2 separate regions of the Homo sapiens genome follow, and region 1 is linked to region 2. The links are contacts of gene promoters, found by promoter capture Hi-C in blood cells and fetal thymus (Javierre and others, 2016). All regions are on one chromosome and are shown on one strand. Each heading gives the region's core, a stretch centred on a gene start or on the middle of the fragment in contact. The rest is flanking DNA. Distances are from core to core; before and after follow the strand shown. Region 1 has its middle 260 kb from the start of CWC27. Region 2 holds the start of DIMT1 (DIM1 rRNA methyltransferase and ribosome maturation factor).

The links. The method cuts DNA at HindIII sites, captures the fragments that hold promoters and counts their contacts. A CHiCAGO score of 5 or more calls a contact.
Region 1: a contact is called between a fragment that was not itself captured here and the fragment with the promoter of DIMT1 in region 2, in 1 of 17 cell types (total CD8 T cells). The highest score is 5.4, in total CD8 T cells.

Annotation. Positions count from the first base shown.
Region 1 is chr5:65,027,642-65,031,387 of GRCh38, forward strand. No RefSeq gene overlaps it. Among named protein-coding and RNA genes, the nearest start is that of CWC27, 260 kb to the left of the region's middle. The HindIII fragment of the contact is 1,839 bases long and covers 759-2,597 here.
Region 2 is chr5:62,402,249-62,405,859 of GRCh38, forward strand. It overlaps DIMT1 (DIM1 rRNA methyltransferase and ribosome maturation factor), which reads right to left and starts at 1,657. Exons shown (of 12, transcript NM_014473.4): 1 at 1,446-1,657; 2 at 1,025-1,098. The coding sequence starts at 1,524. RefSeq lists an enhancer at 1,578-1,867. The HindIII fragment of the contact is 1,140 bases long and covers 857-1,996 here.

The DNA.
Region 1 (3,746 bases), core at 428-2,927, 2.6 Mb after region 2:
AAAAGTCTTAAAAACTAAGATGTAAAGTCTTAAAAAACTAAGATGTATAAGTAAATTAGATAAAATGAGATTATGAGAAATTGCACACCACCTGTTACCTGACAGATTAGCATTAGAGAAGCCTATTAACAGGCAGGAATAAAAGGCTGAATTCAAGAATTTATGATACTTTTTAAATCTCTAATTTATGAAACTTTAGAAGGTACAAGTCTTGGTTTAGATATTTCACAGAACTTTTTAAAATTCCAAATATCGTATTTGATAAGAATCAAGTTGATCTTGTAGTCACAAATTCCACTTTATTAGGATTTAAACTGTAATAGTTACATGATAGAGTATACTCCATCTTATTTTTTAAAATTCTCAATATCCATACACTTGACGGTTTTGCAATTTTGCAGTTTCAAATATTTTTAGCCCCAGGCCTATCAGCCCACACAGCCAGTTGTGTGCCCTTTATAAATACACCCAGATTTTCTCAAACTACTCCTTTGTTTATTTCAACAGAGAAAGAACCTTCAATAGAGACTAATCTCTCTTTGTTCATGGATTGGTACTGCACTGAGAATCTATCTCCATCCTGCTCCCGACAACACAGAATGTGAAATCGTAAATGTATTAATGTGCTTCAGAATCACCCTGCAGGAAGTGGAGGGGCAGGAATCTTGTCAAAATGAGTTTCCCAGGCCTCAGAAATGACAAGTCCGTTGATCTGGGTAGGGGTCCAGGAATCTGTTGCGTTTGTTTCTTTTTGAATAAGCTTACTCAACTAATTCTGATGCCTATTTTCTGAAAATCAGAAATCAGACTTAGACACTGCCCTAGAGCAGAAAACTGAAAGAATGAAAAACATCAAATGGACATGAGAATCTTAAATGGCAAAATAGGCTTTTTTTTTTAATCAAAGACTCATATTCTCTTAGGTATTTCTTTATATAATGAGCCCCTATGTAAATTTACCATATTCTTTGATATGCAAAATTTTTCACAGAAACTGCATAACATCAAATACACCTATACAATCAGAGAAGCCAAGAAGACAAGTAGGACAGCTTGTCTGTTCCCAATTCCCAGAACTTCCTACTACACCCCTTCCTGAACATAATGTTTACATGATGGGAAAATGCAATTAATGATCTTGGTAAGTCTTTCTAGTGCTCCAAGTTTAAGTCAGTCACTTATTTATAAGACAGAAAATAAAAAAATTTCACATCACTGAAACAATGAGTGATTTCTCCAGGTATTTAAATATAGCCTTCCAATAGCAATTATTTTATAGTAAAGATCTCAAACTTAGTAGACAGCAACTAGTTATTCGAAAAGCTAATCAGTGAAATGTCCCCTATCAAAGCATCAAGATTAGAGTATTTGTTCTCTATCTATAATCATATAACTGCTTCTTTTTTGGCAGCACAAACTATACCTACAAGAAAGATTAGTGGATTTTTTTCTGGTACTATAGTTCCATTTGCCTTAAACCTGACTCATTTTCCTAAACTTCTTTTTCCCAAAGATATAGGAAAGAAAATAAGAAATTTGGAGAATTTTACTAGAGACTCTTCATTACCTACGATGTCACAATTAAAAGTCTAATTTATCAACTTGCTTTGAATGATGCTTTTGAAACACATCAAGAATTTTATATGTAAGCCAAGTGGTTTTGACTTGAGTAGTAATTCTTTCCCACTTATCCATTCTCCTGCTACCTTCAAATCACATCTAGCAACCACAGGAAATGGTCTCATGCCTAGTGGGAGGGAGTTAGGACCAGATAGGATTGCAAAAGAAAACCCTTAGGAATTTTCAGAACATATACAACATCAGTACCTGTGTTCTGATACAGGTTAAAACAGAAAGATTCACTTCCACTGATCTCTTTCTTATCCCCCACATAAAAATATTAACCTTCAATATCTCATCTGAACCATTATATTGATCAGGGTAAGAAATAAACAGAAGATTCTTCTTTCACAAATTTCATTGATTCTACTACTTTAGTAGAATCATAGAATGCCTTTTGAGGCTTTTGAGCTTTTTCGCATCAGGAGTATTGCTAGTCCGTAGGCTGTCTTTGCATGAATTGGAAAACGGTAGCCGGTCCCCAAGGCATTTTACTTCCATATGTCAGAAAATTGTGATAATATACTTACTTTGTTAAAAAGAAACACTACTAAATCTGCAAGAAAAAAATCGTCATACTAAATATCAAAGCTATGTTGTTTGTGATGTGAATTATGTTTTTTAGACATGGCACCCTTATGCAGTGCTTACCTGTACAGCTCTTCCTCCCTCCGCCTTCACTGTCAGTCTTCTGCATTTGCTAGCCAGCCCAAATGCTCCTTAGACTCGTACTGAAATTCTGTTAAACGGCTCTCACGAAAACCACTCATGCTGTTCTTCCTGCCAAATCCAAGTCTACCTTCTTGGAATTATTTGCCTTCTCTTAATCCTGATTCTCTTCCTCCCTTTCCTACCAGCAATTCTTGTCCTGCACCTGTTTTCTGTGGACTCCATTCTTAGACTTCAGTTCTGAGGAATCTGGTCAGTCCTCCCTGAGATAAAATGGTCCTCATAGCTAACAGGTTTAGCATAGTGGAAGCTTCAGATGCTGTCTTTTCCACATGCCTTAACTTGTACCACTTAACTGTTTCCCACAGTGAAGATTCCAGTCAAATACTTGCCTTCCTGTAAAAACTTAGGGCACAGCCCTCCAGACTTAGTGACATAATCTGTGACTTGAGCCATATGTTGTTCCATGTCATCTGCAGAGGCCCATGGCTTGTTCCTAAAAAAGACCTAGAAGTCAGACTCCATAGGAACTAAAGAGTCCTCACTGCAATTGAGAGACAGGGCTAGCTGGATTTTCTAGGCCAACTAAGAATCCCTAAGCCTAGCTGGGAAGGTGACCACATCCACCTTTAAACACGGGGCTTGCAACTTAGCTCACACCCGACCAATCAGGTAGTAAGGAGAGCTCACTAAAAAGCTAATTAGGCAAAAACAGGAGGTAAAGAAATAGCCAATCATCTGTTGCCTGAGAGCACAGCAGGAGGGACAATGATCAGGATATAAACCCAGGCATTCGAGCCAGCAACGGCTACCCTCTTTGGGTCCCTCCCTTTGTATGGGAGCTCTGCTTTCACTCTATTAAATCTTGCAACTGCACTCTCTTCCAGTCCGTGTTTGTTAGGGCTGGAGCTGAGCTTTCGCTCGCCATCCACCACTGCCGTTTCCGGCCACTGCAGACCCGCCACTGACTTCCATCCGTCCAGATCCAGCAGGGAGTCCGCTGTGCTCCTGATCCAGTGAGGTACCCATTGCCGCTCCTGATCAGGCTAAAGGCTTGCCCTTATTCCTGCACAGCTAAGTGCCTGGGTTCGCCCTAATGGAGCTGAACACTAGTCACTTGGTTCCACAGTTCTCTTCCGTGACCCATGGCTTCTAATAGAGCTGTAATACTCACCGCATGGCCCGAGATTCCATTCCTTGGAATCCGTGAGCCCAAGAACCCCAGGTCAGAGAACACAAGGCTTGCCACCATCTTGGAAGCGGCCTGCGGCCAGTTTGGAAGCGGCCCGTGGCCATTTTGCAAGCAGCCCGCCACCATCTTGGGAGCTCTGGGAGCAAGGACCCCCTGGTCACACAATCGCTGAACTACAGCCCTCTGCTTCTGGCTCCCAACTTTCTGAAGCACTGTGGGGAAGATGGTTCTTCACCAATCCTGCAATCCAACGGCCACCCAGTAA
Region 2 (3,611 bases), core at 407-2,906:
TCTTCATGATCTACGTGGTTAACAAAATTACCTCAATAACATTTGGTGCAAATGAAAATCTAAGACCTCTCCTAACTTGGAGGAATACTGTTCAACTTTAGGAGTCAGAAAAGCAGCAACAGCATTTCTGGGATTGGCATTCTGCTTTCTATCTGGAAATATTCCAATAGCCTCTTGTTACCTTCTCTGTTCGTATCAACAAGTTCAAATGGGAAAGGACTGTACGTGTTGGGCGAAGATTTTTCAATTTTCAACCCATGTATGGTTTCAAGGATGCAGAAGAGCAGAAACTGTACACAAAATTGAATGTCTGCACACAGCTCTAATATTCTACGGCCATAGCTTTCATCAGATGCTCAAAGGAAACTATGAGCTAAAAAGGTTAAAATAGTACATGACCCTTCTTTCTTTTTTTCTCAGTTTTCAAATGACACGAAGCCTGACAAGATCCTTTAACTATGTAATGCTCTTTCTACAGCTCCAGGATGCTTTCCTTGCTTTTAACCATAAGTGTAATCTGCACCGTGTGTATTTCACTTCCTAACACCCAATCATCCATAACCATAAGAGAACATCAATAACTCAGAAAGCAGTAATACTCCAAGCAATTTATATGTGGTACTAGCATACACCAAATAATTTATATGTAGTACTATATGTTTTTCTGGGGAACAAACTTTCTAATGTGTAGTTTAGACATAAATAGATGGAGTACATAAAAACTAAGTGATCAAAAAGGTGATTAGAAATAGAAGAATAATTATCTTGAACAAATACAAAGGTCCAGCTATAAAGTAGATAATCCACAAAAAGACACAGAATTGGGAACCAGGAGAAACTCAGACCCACAAAATGAAGCTTATCATGCAGAAGACAGCCCAAGAATCCTAGACAATTATTTGATTCATTCAACAAATATTTACAGAGCATCTAATTTACGGCAGGCAGACTTTCTGCGCTTATGTATTCATAGGAATAAAATTAATAAACCAACAACTCTCTCCCTTTCCTCTTCCACACCCACCTTATCGATAATGCTGTTAATAATGAGAGGATTTTTCAAAATGTGCTGCCCAATCCCCGTGTTGAACATGAGTCCTGTAAGAAAATACGAAACAGCATTAATTTTCCTACTGAGATTAGATATTAGGCAGTACCAGAGAAGAAAGCTGCATGGGTATGGGGAAGATTTCTGCGCCAACCAGGGCCACGAAACGTCACGCCAGGACTGACAAACTCTTTATAAGTTCATCCTCCAGCTGGAAAGGAAGTCAGCGGCGACGCGCAGGGCCTGCGGCCGAGTCGGGGACCCACCCCTGCCTTCCGCGCTCACGGGAGCGCGTCCTGACCGGCCTCTGCCGATCAGGTCTTGGTCCGCACCCCAGGCTAGGTCCTGCCGGAAGACCTGACCCGACCGACCCCAGCTTCCTCGCGGGGATCCGCACCTCCAGCGCTCTTCAGCTCCCGGCGCTGCTCCTGCCGCCCGCGGCGGCGGCCGATGGCCCCCGACTTGACCTTCGGCATCTCGGCAGAAAGCGGGCCCACAGGCCCGGGACGTCAAGGAGGACCAAAGAGGGCTAGCGTGAGAAAGCCACCACGTGGGGATCGCCGCCACGCGCCGCCCGCACCACTCTGGCCCAAGCGCCGGAGGGGCAAGGGTCCGCCCCCTCCCGTACGCTCTGAGCTCCTCCTCCAGAAAAAGGGCGGACCTTGGAGCCCACTGACTGCCGGGAATTGGAGTCACAGAGGGAGGAAGGCCGAACCGCGGGAGCCTACAGATCCCAGAAGACACCGCGCTACCGAGGACTGCAGTCTGGAGTTGGAGCCCTTGTCCCAACCAGGGCTGGATAAGAAGGTGTTGGTGTGGTGCTCTCGGTGTTGCGAAGGCTGTTTAAGTTATATGATGAGGTTAAGCCTATGGATGTTTTAGTAGCCTAGGTTCTGGGATCGCTGAGGTCCAAAGAAGTATTCACGTGCCTCGCTCCTGTTTTCCTGAAGCTTGTGGGGGTGGGAAACCCGGGATTTGGGGATGAGCTTGCTCTTTTGTGGGAATGCATTTTTTGCTGCTTGCCCTGGGGAAAAGAACTGCGAGAATGGAATTAACGTCTGGTTTCGCTAGGGCTACTGGTTGCTTCTACTAAGAATAGAAGAGCCGGGCGCGGAGGCTCACGCCTGTAATCCCAGCACTCTGGGAGGCAGAGGCGGGCGGATCACAAGGTCAGGAGATCGAGACCATCCTGGCTAACACGGGGAAACCCCGTCTCTACTAAAAATACAAAAAATTAGCCGGGCGTGGTGGTGGGCGCCTGTAGTCTCAGCTACTTGGGAGACTGAGGCAGGAGAGTGGCGTGAACCCAGGAGGCGGAGGTTGCAGTGAGCCGAGATCGCGCTACTGCACTCCAGCCTGGGCGGCAGAGCGAGACTCCGTCTCAAAAAAAAAAAAAAAAAAAAAGGAATAGAAGAATAATTATCTTAAACAGATACAAAGCTCCAGCTACAAAGTAGATAATCCACAAAAAGACAGAATTGAGAACCAGGAGAAACTCAGACCCACAGAATGAAGCTTATCGTGCAGAAGACAGCCCGTGAATCCTAGAAAATTATTTGATTCATTTAACAAATAATTCAACAAATTCCTTTTGTGCCTCATCATTCACTCCGTAAACATTTATTGAGCTCCAACTGTGTATCAAACACTGCTAGGGATTCTAAGTAAGAAACTTATTTCAAAGTGTATTATATTGACAGAGATGGACAGAAACTCCAAAACGCTGTAAATACGATAACGTATTGGTCGTTGTGACAGGACAGTGTACCTGACTATAAACTCCGTGTGTACCAGGGCCATAATATCCACATCTGTTTTGCCAGCCAGTGTAATGGCTCTTTTAAATTTTTCTGTGTGTATTCTGTTTGGTTGAAGAAATAGCTTCTTCCTGTCATTACTAAAGCTAACTCTCTTTTGAGCAATTCATTGTGTACATTCCCAAACCTTGGTCTTAGGCCCTTCTTTCTTTGATGTAGTTCTAAGTCAGAAAAAAAATCTCGTATACCCTAGTAGCATCTTCAAGTATATGTTTCATTTCATCAATCATTGTTATTCCACAATTCTAAAGAGTACACTGTGCTAGGCACTTCCAAATGTTAATAGGATGGACATGGCCTGGAGAGGTGGCTCATGCCTGTAATCCCAGCACTTTGAGAGGCCAAGGCGAGCGGATCACTTGAGCTGAGAAGTTTGAGATCAACCTGGGCAACAAAGTGAGACCCCGTCTCTACAAAAAATACAAAAATTAGCCAGGCGTGGTGGTGCAGGCCTGTAGTCTCAGCTACTCGGGAAGCTGAGGTGGGAGCCTCACTTGAGCCCGAGAATTTGTAGTGAGCCAAGATTGCACCAACCTGGGCGACAGCATGATACCCTGTTTAAAAAAAAAAAATTAACATGACACAAAACCCTGTGTGTGATTTGTTATTGTTGTTGTTGTTGGGTTTTTTGGTTTTGTTTTTTTGAGACGGTCTCACTCTGTCACCCAGGCTGGAGTGCAGCGGCATGATCTCAGCTCACTGCAACCTCCGCCTGCCGGGCTCAAGCGATGCTCTCACCTCAGCCT